Regions from separate parts of the Homo sapiens genome. Here regions 1, 3, 4 and 5 are each linked to region 2. The links are contacts of gene promoters, found by promoter capture Hi-C in human tissues and cell types (Jung and others, 2019). All regions are on one chromosome and are shown on one strand. The core of a region is centred on a gene start or on the middle of the fragment in contact, and the rest is flanking DNA. Distances in the headings are between cores, read along the strand shown. Region 1 has its middle 40 kb from the start of NFAM1. Region 2 holds the start of CYP2D6 (cytochrome P450 family 2 subfamily D member 6 (gene/pseudogene)). Region 3 has its middle 21 kb from the start of RRP7A. Region 4 holds the start of RRP7A (ribosomal RNA processing 7 homolog A). Region 5 has its middle 23 kb from the start of NFAM1.

Region 1 (2,700 bases), core at 106-2,605, 340 kb after region 2:
TTCTCAGCTCCAAATGCCCTTCCTCTCCTTTGCAACCTGTGAGGTTTGGCTAAAATGTAACCTCCTTTGGCTGTTACTGCCAAGAGCACAGCCAGTATCCATTCTGCCCCACTTCCTTAAGAATAGAACCACGATTTTGTTCTAATATGGTCCTTTTAAAATGACTACAACTATCGTATTATATTCCCAGCTCCCTCTGTATCTCAGGGTGGCCAAGTGACACAGTTTTGGACAATGAGATACAGGCTGAAGTTTGCTAGGTTTATTAATTATCGATGCATATCAAAGTATCCCAAAACTTAGTGGTTTAAAGCAATGGATGCTTTTATTATCTCACGATTTTTGTGGGTCAAGAATTTGGGAGTGGCTTATCTGGGTGGTTCTGGTTCAAGATCTTAATGAGGTTGCAGTCAAGGTGTCCACTGGGGCTGCAGTCATCCGAAGGCTTGACTAGATCTGGAGGATCTTCTTCCAAGGAGGTTTACTCATGTGGCTGTTGGCAAGAAGTCTCCTGTTGTCTGGATGCAAGTCATGGTACATGTAAGACGCTTTAAGAGTTTTTATTGTTGGCATCAAGGAAAAAAGTATGACCTCTTCCTTTGCCTATCTCCAATCCCTTTTATCCCCATTTTATTTTTGATCTATCCACCCATGTACTCATCCACTACCCATCTACCCACCCATCCATCCACCCACCCATCCATCCATCCACTCACCCATCCAGCCAACAACTCACTCATCCACCCATCCACTCATCCACCAACCTTTCACCCACCTACCCACCTATCCACTTACCCACCCACCCATCCTTTCACCCATCCACCCATCCATCCACCCACACACATATCCATCCATCCATCCATCCATCCATCCACCATCCACCCACCCATCCACACACTCATCCACCTATCCATCTATCCAATAGTTTCTGGGAGCGTATAAAGTGCCAGGCACAATATTTAGGCACTTGACATAAAAAGTGAGTAAGATTTGTGCCCTTCCTTTAAGTAATTCCTCTCTATTTAGGATGACAGATATGGAACAATTCTAGTACATTTGTGATAAGTGCTATGCTACAAGTAAAAGAGGGATACTATCTTTTTTTTTTTTTTCGAGACAGGGTTTCACTCTGTAACCCAGGCGGGAGTGCAGTGGTGCAATCTTGGCTCACTGCAACCTCCATCTCCTGGGTTCAAGCGATTCTCGTGCCTCAGCCTCCCGAGTAGCTGGGATTACAGGTGTGTGCCACCATGCCAGGCTCTTTTTTTTTTTTTTCTTTTTGGTATTTTTAGTAGAGACAGGGTTTCACTATGTTGGCCAGACTGGCCTCGAACTCCTGACCTCAAATGACCTGCCCACCTCAGCCTCCCAAAGTGCTGGGATTACAGGCATGAGCCACCGCACCTGGCCAGATACTATCTTAGATGTATTAATATTTTTTCCTTCTCTTATTCAGTCAGAAGCTTCTGTTGGCCTCAAGGATAATTATGATTTTCATAGTAGGTAGGTGATGAGAAAGAAAGACGCTTTCACTTTTAAGTATTAAGACTGACTCCAAGTGCATGTGATTCGGTAGTCTTGAAACTGAGCTTTCAGAGAAAAAAGAGATTTTCTAAATTCCAAAGGCTCTGCTTTAAGACGTAAATAACAGAATCCTGGACTTGGATTATAAGCAGTGCACAGGGTCTGAAGGTGTGACTTAGGGAAGTTCCCATCAGTAGGAAGACACAGGAGATCAGATGTCAGCGTCCTGATTCCCTCCTCGGGGTTAACACAGTGGTAGCAAGGCCTGCGGTGAGCATGGCAGCAGAACGACAGGGGCTGCTCAGGCATGCTTTGGAAATGGCCAGGAAAGGGTCTAGGACAGTGGCCTGGAAGGCAGCCTCACAGATCTAGTGTGAGGCTACACCCAGCCTACACTCTCTAGTGTGGAGTGGGAAAAGCAGCCCAGGCCCTGATGAATCAAAAGACTGAGATTGGGGTACAGAGGCCAGGCTGGGAGCCCTGGGCTGGAGGTTGAGAATAATGCATGATGGTATCGCCTCGTGGACACCAGGACGGAAGGTCCAGGAACCGCCCTGGCCATGGCTGAGAGGCAGGAGCCAGGAGGGTGCCCTAGTTACCCCGCACCCTAGCAGCATCTCAGAAAGGAGCAGGGAGAGACACTTGATCGGAACTTGAACCTGAACTTGAACTTTAATCTTGACGCGTTAATGAGGAAGGGAGTTTTGGAAGACTGAAGAGGCTGAGTTAGCTCTGATGAGCATGTTCCTGGTGTTATTTCCTTTCTCTCTTTTGCCGTGAGCAAGAGTGGGGACTTGCGAGCTCAAGGGAATCAGTTATAGACCATTTTTAGTTCTATTTCTGTGCACATCTGCCTGCATACAGCATAAAGATTTTTACCCTGGTTGAGGCGTGCACGGGATGCTGGGATTACAGGCGTGAGCCACCGTACCCACCTGACCCTAAATTATTTTTGGTTCCTCCAATCCAACTTTCTTCCATAGAATACTAAGAATGGGAATTGCTCTGTTCCTAAGGCACTATAAGCTGAAACTAAATGAATTTTAAGGGATGAGTCTTGTGTGTGATCTATGGACCATATAGAAAGTTCACTGGACTGCCTCATGCCATGAGCAGAGACAGTCTAACTGTAAACCAGGACAAGCAGTTGATGGCTTCATGCTGTGGGTGGCTTTT
Region 2 (2,700 bases), core at 1-2,500:
GCCCCGCCCTCGTCCCCATGCTCACACCTCCCTAGTGCAGGTGGTTTCTTGGCCCGCTGTCCCCACTCGCTGGCCTGTTTCATGTCCACGACCCCGCGCCCTCTCTGCCCAGCTCGGACTACGGTCATCACCCACCCGGGTCCCACGGAAATCTGTCTCTGTCCCCACCGCTGCTTGCCTTGGGAACGCGGCCCGAAACCCAGGATCTGGGTGATGGGCACAGGCGGGCGGTCGGCGGTGTCCTCGCCGTGGGTCACCAGCGCCTCGCGCACGGCCGCCAGCCCATTGAGCACGACCACCGGCGTCCAGGCCAGCTGCAGGCTGAACACGTCCCCGAAGCGGCGCCGCAACTGCAGAGGGAGGGTCAGGGCCTCTTGTCAAGCCAGGATCACCCCAGACTACAGGTCCTAGTCCTATTTGAACCTTGGACGACCCCCGGGGCTACCAGGAGTGAGCAGGTGGAAGGAGGAGACCCAGCCTCCTGATCGTGGGGCGGGGGTGGGGGTCACACCTTCTGTGATGGAGGAACTCAGTTTGGATGCGTCACCCAGGTATGACCTTGCAAGAGTCACCAAAATTGCCGAGAGGCCCCAGTTAGCATCCCATTCCCAGATGATGGTCCATGCCGGTGAGCAGTGAGGCCCGAGGACCCACAGTGCAAAAGGTTTGAACCGGGTCACTGCACCCCCTTCATCCTCGATTTCGTGATTTAAACGGCACTCAGGACTAACTCATCTTCCATTCCCAAGGCCTTTCCTTCTGGTGTCAGCAGAAGGGACTTTGTACTCCATAACATATGTTGCCCAATGGGCTTGCATGCCCACTGCCAAGTCCAGCTCCACCTCCAGGCCCTTGCCCTACTCTTCCTTGGCCTTTGGAAAATCCAGTCCTTCATGCCATGTATAAATGCCCTTCTCCAGGACGTCCCCCAAACCTGCTTCCCCTTCTCAGCCTGGCTTCTGGTCCAGCCTGTGGTTTCACCCACCATCCATGTTTGCTTCTGGTAGGGGAGCCTCAGCACCTCTGCCGCCCTCCAGGACCTCCTCCCTCACCTGGTCGAAGCAGTATGGTGTGTTCTGGAAGTCCACATGCAGCAGGTTGCCCAGCCCGGGCAGTGGCAGGGGGCCTGGTGGGTAGCGTGCAGCCCAGCGTTGGCGCCGGTGCATCAGGTCCACCAGGAGCAGGAAGATGGCCACTATCACGGCCAGGGGCACCAGTGCTTCTAGCCCCATACCTGCCTCACTACCAAATGGGCTCCTCTGGACACACCTGGCACCCCCACCCCACCAGGCACAGAGGACCAGGCAGGACACTCTCAGCACACCGAGCGCGTGACCCTTCCCTTATAAAGGGAGCTGATGATGGCCTTTGCCCTCTGCTGTGAGTGAACCTGCTGTGTTGACTGTGCTGCCAGTGGCAGAGTCAGGCCAGGGCGGGTATGGGCTGCTCCAGAGGTTCTTGCCCCTGCTTCCTGCTCCAGGCCCTTACCCAGGGTAGGCCGGTGGAGGGGCCTGGTCGGAGAAGTCACCCCCTCTCCCCACTCCAAGCTCCTGAAGCCTGCAAAGCCTTCTGGGATAACCAGGGTTTCAGTGGACCCGGCCATCCACCTCCCAGCTAGGCTCATACACCCTAATGTAGTCACAACCCCTCCTCCAGAACATGGCCTTGCCCTTTCCCTACCCCCACCTGCCCACTCCAGAGTGACCTTCAGCACCCTTATCTGTCACTGGCACTTACCTGGGGCCTTAGAGCTCCTGATGATGAGTGGCATCATGGGCCTGGTCCCTTCACTTCACCTTGCACTCTTGACATGCACAGACGCTATGCACACACCTGATGGTGCACAGATCTCTTGTCCACTCCCAGACACTTGTCCACTTGTTCACACTTGCAGGGACACGATTACACACGCAGAAAATCACCCACACAAAGACAATATTCACACATACACAGACTCACACTGACACTTAGGGCACACATTCTCTCTCACACACACCAGTCACACACACATACAGACCCGGCACCAAGTACCCCACTTCCCAGCCATGCCGGAGGTTTCCTGGATGGGACCACTCCTGTCCAGAGGCTGCTCCCAGCCCAGCCCACATTCCTGGGCTCTGGCCGGGCTATGGCTTCTTGTTTGCAACAGGGCTGTTCCCAGAGCTCCCAGTTGGTAGCCGGAAGGCCCTTGCCCCAGCCTGTGACAACATCCTCCCGGGCTGCCTGAGGGTCGTCCTCCTCCACTGCTTTCTGGCCTCCATGTTTCTGATTAGAAATCTGGTGGGAACGTTATGGAGGATCCTTTGTTCAGGATATGTTGCTTTATTTTTTTTTTCTTTAGACAGGGTCTCACTCTGTTGCCCAGGCCGGAGTGCAGTGGCAGGATCATGGCTCACTGCAGTCTCGACATCAAGTGGACCCCCTGCCTCCCAAGTAGCTGGGACTACAGGCACCACCCAGCCTAATTCTTTTTTTTTTTTTTTTTTTTTTGGAGACGGAGATTTCCTCTTGTTGCCCAGGCTGGTGGCTCCCCTCCATTGTGCAATGATGCAATCTCGGCTCACTACAACCTTCACCTCTAGGCTTCAAGCAATTCTCCTGCCTCAGCCTCCTAAGTAGCTGGGATTACAGGTGTGTGCCACCACGTCTAGCTTTTTGTATTTTCAGTAGAGATAGGGTTTCACCATGTTGGCCAGGCTA
Region 3 (2,700 bases), core at 109-2,608, 370 kb after region 2:
CGTGAAAACCAGAAGGCGGAGGTTGCAGTGGGCCGAGATCCTGCCACTGCACTCTAGCCTGGGCAACAAGAGTGAAACTCTGTCTTAAAAAAAAAAAAAAAAAAAAAAAAGGGCCGGGCGCAGTGGCTTGCGCCTGCAATCCCAGCACTTTAGGAGACCAAGGCGGGCTGATCACCTAAGGTCGGGAGTTCGAGATCAGCCTGGCTAACATGGTGAAACCTCGTCTCTACTAAATATACAAAATTAGCTGGACGTGGTGGCGCATGCCTGTCATTCCAAGCTACTCGGGAGGCTGAGGCAGGAGAATCGCTTGAACCCAGGAGGCAGAGTTTGCAGTGAGCCAGGATTGCACCACTGCCTGGCAACAGTATGAGGCTCCATCTCAAAAAAAAAGAAAAAAATCTGCTAAATTTGTAGTAACTTGTTGCACAGCATAGAAAATTAATATAGTCTCCCTAAATATTATAGTTAGTACTGCCTGCTTTTAAGAGTCTCTTTCAATCTATAGATTCCCCCTGCATCTCTTTATTCTCTCTCAATTTTTTATTGAAAAATTTGGGATGGTTAATTTGTATCGCTTCCCATAGTCTGGATTTTGCTGGTTACATTCCTGTGGTATAGGTTAACAGGTTTCATTTTTTCCTCCTGTAAATTGATCATTGCATCTAGAGTGTTAATCAGATTAAGCTTTTTATGTTTTTGTTAAGACTCTTTCTAAGTACACAGCTACAAGGTGTTTGTGTGTGTGTGTATATGTATATGTGAATTTGTGTATTTTTTTTAAGATAAGATGCCTCATGAAACATACTGATACTTCTGATTCAAATTCAGGAGACAAGATGTTACTCATTCTCTTCTATTTCACATCTGTAACTCCTTTTCCCTACACCAAGAATTCAGTTCTCTGGCCACTGGGGATGATAGAATTTGAATATCACATAATTACTAATTGCTTTGTCCCATGTTCGAAAACATTCTTAGAATAAAAATATAACATTACCAGTCCATATGATCACTAAAAACAGTTCCAAAACATTTTATTTTACTTTAGTATTATTATTACTTTTTTTTTTCTTTGAGACGGAGTCTTGCTCTGTCACCCAGGCTGGAGTGCAATGGTGTGATCTCAGCTCACTGCAACCTCTACCTCCTGGGTTCAAGTGATTCTCCTGCCCCAGCCTCCCAAGTAACTGGGATTACAGGCGCCCACCACCACACCTGGCTAATTTTTGTATTTTAGTAGAGATGAAGTATTGCAGGATCTGGCCAGCAGCCTGCAATGCAACGGGGCTCTCTCTTTGTTCCCAAGCGGATTGGCAGGTTGAGAAATAATAGACACACACAAGATAGTGAAAGCTGGGTCCAGGGGGGTCACTGCCTTCTGGTCCCTCAGTGCCAACAATGCACGGGATATACCAGCATTTATTATTAAGTTTAGTGAGGTCGGGGGTAGGTTAGTGAGGGATTTAGGGTCATTTGATTATGAGGTGAGATGGTCACATGGGGATGAAGCAATTCTTTAACATAACATTTGTATGTAGAAGTACAGTACATTTGTATGTAGAAGTATAGTATACAGAGATAAGAATTTACAACATAGTGTGTGCGTCAGTAATTTCTAACAGAGCCTTAAAACAGAAACACAGTCTTTCCATAACCTATGATTAGCAAGATTTTAATCAGTAGTAAAAACTGCAACAAAAGCTGGTTACAAACAATCCATGGAAACAGGAAGCTAGACAACCGGTTAGACCAGAAATTCTCAGAAGGGAGTATGCCTTAACCCTAAAGAGGCCTAGAAGAGCCACGGCAAGATGAGGGCGTTTATAGCCCTATCTTATCCATATGGACAGGCACCCCCTATGCGTCCATTTATAGGCTCTCCACAAGGGTCGCATTCCATTCCCAGAGCTATGAACATCTGCTTTGCTGGGATACGAATCTTGGTGATGTGAAACTTCCCTGACTGCAAGTCCATTCATAGGCTCTCTGCAGGGGGAAGCACATCACGTGCTATTGGCTCATTCTGGCAGTCCAACCTGGCATTGTCTTTACACAATCCTGCATGCAATTTTGTATTTACAATAATCAGGAGCATTTCATCTTTTATTCCATAGCAATAGTTTCAGGGGGTCTCCCTACAATGAAGTTGCGCCACATCGGCCAGGCTGGTCTCGAACTCCTGACCTCAAGCCACCCACCTGCCTTGGCCTCCCAAAGTGCTGAGACTACAAGCCTGAGCCACCGTCCCTGGCCAAAAAACAAAAAACAAAACACACACACACACACACACACACACACACACACACACTTTAAAGATATGCCCACACCATTTTCTCCCCCTATTTATAGCTGTACTTTGTCTATGTTGTTGGCGAATGTAACCATTACACTCCATCCTCTCCTTTTTACTCCTCATCTTCTCTTGGTTCTCCATGTAAATATATCTTTAATGTTCACACCAGGCTAATGTCAATGTCTTTTTAGTCTCGTTGGTTGTCTGAAGCTTATTTTCTAGTAATTCCTCAGGAAAGGCTTTGGGAACAATATTCTCTGGGTTCCTGCACATTGGTGAGAATCTGCTATTTTTTTTTTCTTTTTAACTCACTCTGTCACCCAGGCTGGAGTGCACTGCCGCGATCTGGGCCCACTGCAACCTCCATCCCCCAAGTTCGAGCGATTCTCCTGCCTCAGCCTCCT
Region 4 (2,700 bases), core at 1-2,500, 390 kb after region 2:
GGTACACCAGGGCCTCACACATGCTGGCCTCTCTACCTGGCGTGTCACCCTCTTCCCTCCCGCTCACCTCAGGTTTAGCTCAAACCTCGCTTCCTCAGGAGAGCCTTAGCATCACCTCCGCCCCTCCTGCCAGCTCAGATCCCACTGCCTGTGCCTTCACAGCTTCTCTTAACAGTCTGGAGGCTATATTGATGAGATTCTTTGGTTAATCGCTGGCACACCCATGACTGTAATCCTCATAAAGCTAGGAACTGCTTCTATTTTTCTCACACCTCCGTCACAGTACCGGTTGGCGTAGAGCTGCGGTCCCTGAACTCAGGAAGCTCAGTTGCAATAACGGAGAAGACAATTAACAAGCATACAGCAAACTTGTATCAATTGTGAAAGAAACATTACAGGGTGATGGGGTGGCAGAGGTCTTCTTTCCATAGGCCATCACGGATGGCCTCTTTGAGGAAGCAACATTAAAGCTCAGGCCAGAACGCCACTGTGCAACAAACCGGCACAGCACGTGCAAAAACCCAGAGGGGGGAAAAAGCATGTTCCCTCAGAGGAACAGAAAGAGCTTTAGGTCGGCACCAGCCAGACCACGTGGCCCACACAGGTTAAGAAGTCTGGTTTTTGTTTTAGAAGCTACCTGATAAAGCCACTGGAGGGAATGCAGTAGGTGTGGCGCCTATCGTGGGCGCGGCAGACATGATCGAATCTAAATGTCCTTAAAAGAACATTCTGGCACGTGGGTGGAGAACAGAAGCAGGGGCAAGAGGAGAAGGAGGGCAACCGAGTAGGAGGGCCTATAACAGCCCAGGTAAGAGCTGATGGGGGATGGACTAGGAGCAGAGGCGATGAGAAGGGGATGGGCTCACCTGGACGAGCGGGTGTGGACGGAAATGGGTTTGTCCTGGGTGAGAGTGTGGACAGAGGCGGGCTCACCCAAGGGAAGCGTGGACCAAGTTGGGCTCGCCCCGGGAGAGTGAGCAGGCAGAAGGGCGCCGCCTGGGTCCTCGGGACCCCGGAGCCTCAAGACCTGCGGAGCCTGGGGCCACGGGCCACCGGGGCTCACACCCAACCGTGCGGCCGCTCCTGGGGACCCCCGGCCGTCGCCAACCCCCAAACACCTCCCGGCGATGCCTGACCGCCCCCGGTCTCGCGTCCCGGAGCCCCTCACCTGCGTAGCCCAGTGGGCTGGGGATACGGTCCTCCGGGTCCCGCGCGGCGCACTTCCTCCTGCGCGCCACCATCTTGCCACCCGGGAGCGCGGGGGCCGCCGGGAGTTGCGGTTCGGCGCCGGCGCGAGCGCGTTTTCGTGGCGCCTGCCCCGCCCCCTCACTCCAAGCCCGCCTCCCCGGCCCCGCCCGCCATGGCCCAACCTTCATCCGCTCAGAGATAAATCAGCGCGCGAAAGTGGGAGCGAATGTCAGAGTTGACCCCGGCCAGTCACGAGTGCGAACTCAGCTTTCCACTCATGCATTCACACGTTGAATAGGCAGTGTGAGAGAAATCCAGGATGGCTGCTAGGTTTTCAGTCTGAGCAACTAAGAGGATGGTGTTGCCATTGACTGAGATGGGAAGACTGCAGGAGAGGGGCCTGCTTGGGGGTGAAAATGGAGTAGATCAGTTCTCTGTGAGCCGTGGTGAGATGCCCATTAGGCCACTCAGGGGACATGTCAGGTGGGCACTTAGATATGAGACTGAACAGACTGAACATCAGAGATGTCAGGCCTGGAGCAATACACACGGGACTGGCCATGGATAGGTTATTGACAGTTACGAGAGGAGCCGGGTGCGGTGATTCATGCCTGTAATCCCAGCAATTTGGGAGGCCGAGGGGGGCGGATCACTTGAGGTCAGGAGTTCCAGACCAGCCTGGCCAACATGGTGAAACCCCGTGTCTACTAGGTACAAAAAGTAGCCGGGCGTGGTAGTGCATGCCTGTAATTCCAGCTACTCGGGAGGCTGAGGCAGGAGAATCGCTTGAACCCAGGAGGCGGAGATTGCAGTTAGCCAAGATCGCCCCACTGCAATCCAGCCTGGGCAACAGAGCGAGACTCTGTCTCAAAAAAAAAAGAAAGAGAAAAAAAAAGAAAGTTATGAGAGGGTGTGATCGCCAAGGGAGCAAGTGTAGATAGGGGAGAAATGAAGTCCAAGGACTCCACTTTTCTGGACTCCAAAGGGCCTCTCAGACTGTGTACCCGCCAGCCCTTGATGTATCTACTATTTCTCTTTTCCCAGTGTACAGTTGCTTCTTGGAAATGCTGTCGGCCCCTTTGGGGAAAGATTAGGAGCCTACTACTGCAAATATTTGTGGTCTGGAGGGGACCCAGCCTCCCTTTCAGTCAGTGACCTCTGGTTCTGAGGCCTAGCTTAGGCCTGGAAACTGGATGAGGGGTTGGGATTTTCCATCAGCAGCTGCCATTACTGTCCTGTTCGCTCGTTTTTTGTTTTTGATCTTTCTTTGCTTAGCGCAGTCAAGCAGTGTTGGGGCTTCCGTGGCCCCTGGGAATACCGTGGTCTACTAGCATTCACCAGAGACTCCTGTGCGCCCAGGATCCCTGGCAGCCACTCTGGCCTTGCTCCTGTTCTGACAGTCACATCAACCGAACCTCTGCTCTCTGGAATCCTATCTCCTGCTGACCTTTCCGAGCCCGGCTCCAGTCCTATTTGCCCTCTTCTACCCTGGCCTCAGAGGACGGCCATGCC
Region 5 (2,700 bases), core at 133-2,632, 320 kb after region 2:
AGGAGAATCTCTTGAACCTAAAATCTAAAAAATAAGACCACGCCAAGGAAAAAAATCAGTAACAGTATAGAGGGGATGGAAGCAGACCTCTTTAATACACCTTGTTCTTCAGTTTTGACTTTGCCATCATGTAAATGCTTTATTTAGTTCTAAATCAAATTTAAATTGAAAAAAAAAAATTCCCAGGCCAGGGCGGCGGCTCATGCCTGCGATCCCAGCACTTTGGGAGGCTGAGGTGGGCAGGTCAACTAAGCCCAAGAATTTGAGACCAGCCTGGGCAATATGACAAAACCCCATCTCTACAAAAAATACAAAATTAGCCAGATGTGGTGGTGCAGGTGCTTGGAGGCTGCTTGGGAGGCTGAGGTGGGAGGATGACCTGGGCCTGAGAGGTGGAGTTTGCAGTGAGTCGAGATTGCACCACTGCACTCCAGCCTGGGTGACAGAGTGAGGCCCTGTCTCAAAAAAGAAAAAAAAAAAAGTATTTCCTAGTTGATTTTTGTTCAACTTCAATTAATCATAATCTACCTTCTTTTTTTTGTTTTTGAGACAAGAGTCTCGCTCTGTTGCCCAGGATGGAGTGCAATGGTGTGAACTGCAACCTCTGTCTCCTGGGTTCAAGCAATTCACCTGCCTCAGCCTCTTGAGTAGTTGGGATTACAGGTGTCCACCACCACACCTGGCTAAATTTTGTACTTTTAGTAGAGATGGAGTTTCACCATGTTGGTCAGGCTGGTCTCAAACTCCTGACCTCATGATCCACCCACTTCGGGCTCCCAAAATGCTGGGATTACAGGCGTGAGCCACCGTGCCCTGCCAATCACAATCTACCTTTAAGTGATAATATGCTACCTTTTTTTTTTTTTTTTTAGACAGTCTCGCTCTGTCCCTCAGGCTGGAGTGCAGTGGCGCAATCTTGGCTCACTGCAAGCTCTGCCTCCCGGGTTCACGCCATTCTCCTGTCTCAGTCTCCCAAGTAGCTGGGACTACAGGTGCCTGCCACCATGCCCGGCTAATTTTTTGTATTTTTAGTAGAGACAGGGTTTCACCGTGTTCGCCAGGATGGTCTCTATCTCCTGACCTTGTGATCCGCCTGCCTCAGCCTCCCAAAGTGCTGGAATTACAGGCATGAGCCACCATGCCCAGCCAATATACTACTTAATATAAAGCATAAGAACATTGGCCAGGTGCGGTGGCTTATGCCTGTAATCCCAGCACTTTGGGAGGCTGAGGAGGGTAGATTGCTTGAGCCCACAAGTTTGAGACCAGTGACACCCCATCTCTACAAAAAAATGTAAAAAATTAGCTGGGTATGGTAGTACATGCCTGTAGTCTCAGCTACTTGGGATCGCTTGAGCCCAGGAAGTCAAGGCTGCAGTGAGCCATGATTGTGCCACTGCACTCCAACCTGGGCAACAGAGCAAGACCCTATCCCCACTCCCCACCCTCCCAAAAAAAAGAACCTAAAAGTAGTGTATTTCTGATTCTCCACATACACACTCCATCTATTTAAGAAACTACAATAAATACAATGAGTTCAGGCTGGATGCGGTGGCTCATGACTGTAATCCCAGCACCTTGGGAGGCAGAGGTTGGTGGATCGCTCCACTGTACTCCAGCCTGGGTGACAGAGCGAGACTCTGTCTCAAAATAAATAAATGAATAATAAAATAAAAAGTAAATGGTCTAGGCCTGGCCAACATGGTGAAACCCTATCTCTACAAAAAATACAATATTTAGCCGGGTGTGGTGGTGTGCACCTGTAGTCCCAGCTACTGCGGAGGCTGAGGCAGGAGGATCACTTGAGCCCAGGAAGTGAAGGCTGCAGTGAGCCACAATTGCGCACCACTACACTCCAGCCTGGGTGACAGAGTGAGACCCTTTCTAAAAAAAAAAAAAAAAGGAAAGAAAAGAAAATGTCCAAATTTAAAGGCAGAGATTGTCAGATTGGATTAAAAAAAGATTCAGTATCCTATTTATAAGAAACACACTTCAAATATAAAGACACAAATAGGTTAAAAGTAGAAGGATGGAAAAAGACATACCTACCATGCTATCACAAATCCAAAAAAAGCTAGCGTGGCTTATCAATATCAGACCAAGTAGATTGTATAGCAGAAGACATTACCAGGGATAAAGAGGTTAATTCAATAATGATTAAGGGGTCAGTTATTCCAGAGGACATAACAATTCTAAACGTTTATGTACCTAATAACAGAGCTTCAAAACACTTGAAGCAAAAACTTATAGAACAGCAAAGAGAAATGGAAAAGTTGACAATCATAGTTGAAGATGTCAATACCCTGCTTTCAATAATTGATAGAATTGATAGAATAGCTGGGTATAGCCGTGTATCACCTGTAGTCCCAGCTACTCAGGAGGCTGTGGCAGGAGAAGCACTTTAGCCCAGGACTTGAGTCTAGTCTGGACAACATAGTGAGATCCCACCTCTGAATAAATACATAGAAATTGATAGAATGAATAGACAGAAAACCAGCAAATATATAGAAGATTTGAACAACATTATCAACCAACTCGATCCAATGGACATTTATAAAACACTTTACCCAACAACAGCAGAATACACATTCCTCTCAAGTTCACACAGAATATTTACCAACATAGACAATATTCTGAGACATTAAACAAGTCTCAGTACATTTAAAGGGACTCAAGTCATTCAAAGTATGCTCTCTTACA

What was found. Contacts are between HindIII fragments. The study calls those that stand out against the background at their distance.
Region 1: a fragment that was not itself captured here is called in contact with the fragment with the promoter of CYP2D6 in region 2 in 4 of the 25 tissues and cell types used here (IMR-90 fibroblasts, lymphoblastoid cells, mesendoderm cells and 1 more).
Region 3: a fragment that was not itself captured here is called in contact with the fragment with the promoter of CYP2D6 in region 2 in 2 of the 25 tissues and cell types used here (IMR-90 fibroblasts and spleen).
Region 4: a contact is called between the fragment with the promoter of RRP7A here and the fragment with the promoter of CYP2D6 in region 2, in 2 of the 25 tissues and cell types used here (hippocampus and lymphoblastoid cells).
Region 5: a contact is called between a fragment that was not itself captured here and the fragment with the promoter of CYP2D6 in region 2, in 1 of the 25 tissues and cell types used here (dorsolateral prefrontal cortex).

What each region holds. Positions count from the first base shown.
Region 1 is chr22:42,470,838-42,473,537 of GRCh38, forward strand. No RefSeq gene overlaps it. Among named protein-coding and RNA genes, the nearest start is that of NFAM1, 40 kb to the left of the region's middle. The HindIII fragment of the contact is 3,065 bases long and covers 1-2,700 here.
Region 2 is chr22:42,129,560-42,132,259 of GRCh38, forward strand. CYP2D6 (cytochrome P450 family 2 subfamily D member 6 (gene/pseudogene)) reads right to left here and starts at 1,251. Exons shown (of 9, transcript NM_000106.6): 1 at 1,053-1,251; 2 at 179-350. The coding sequence starts at 1,232. RefSeq lists promoters at 1,257-1,723, 1,310-2,700 and a cis regulatory region at 2,536-2,547. The HindIII fragment of the contact is 22,528 bases long and covers 1-2,700 here.
Region 3 is chr22:42,497,033-42,499,732 of GRCh38, forward strand. No RefSeq gene overlaps it. Among named protein-coding and RNA genes, the nearest start is that of RRP7A, 21 kb to the right of the region's middle. RefSeq lists enhancers at 1,647-2,167, 2,253-2,700 and a silencer at 1,751-2,045. The HindIII fragment of the contact is 5,441 bases long and covers 1-2,700 here.
Region 4 is chr22:42,518,546-42,521,245 of GRCh38, forward strand. It overlaps RRP7A (ribosomal RNA processing 7 homolog A), which reads right to left and starts at 1,251. Exons shown (of 7, transcript NM_015703.5): 1 at 1,169-1,251. The coding sequence starts at 1,241. It overlaps LOC124900479 (a long non-coding RNA gene), which reads left to right. Exons shown (of 3, transcript XR_007068117.1): 1 at 1-808. RefSeq lists silencers at 1,003-1,132, 1,143-1,312, 1,333-1,392 and enhancers at 1,573-1,632, 2,158-2,452. The HindIII fragment of the contact is 27,172 bases long and covers 1-2,700 here.
Region 5 is chr22:42,454,092-42,456,791 of GRCh38, forward strand. No RefSeq gene overlaps it. Among named protein-coding and RNA genes, the nearest start is that of NFAM1, 23 kb to the left of the region's middle. The HindIII fragment of the contact is 8,803 bases long and covers 1-2,700 here.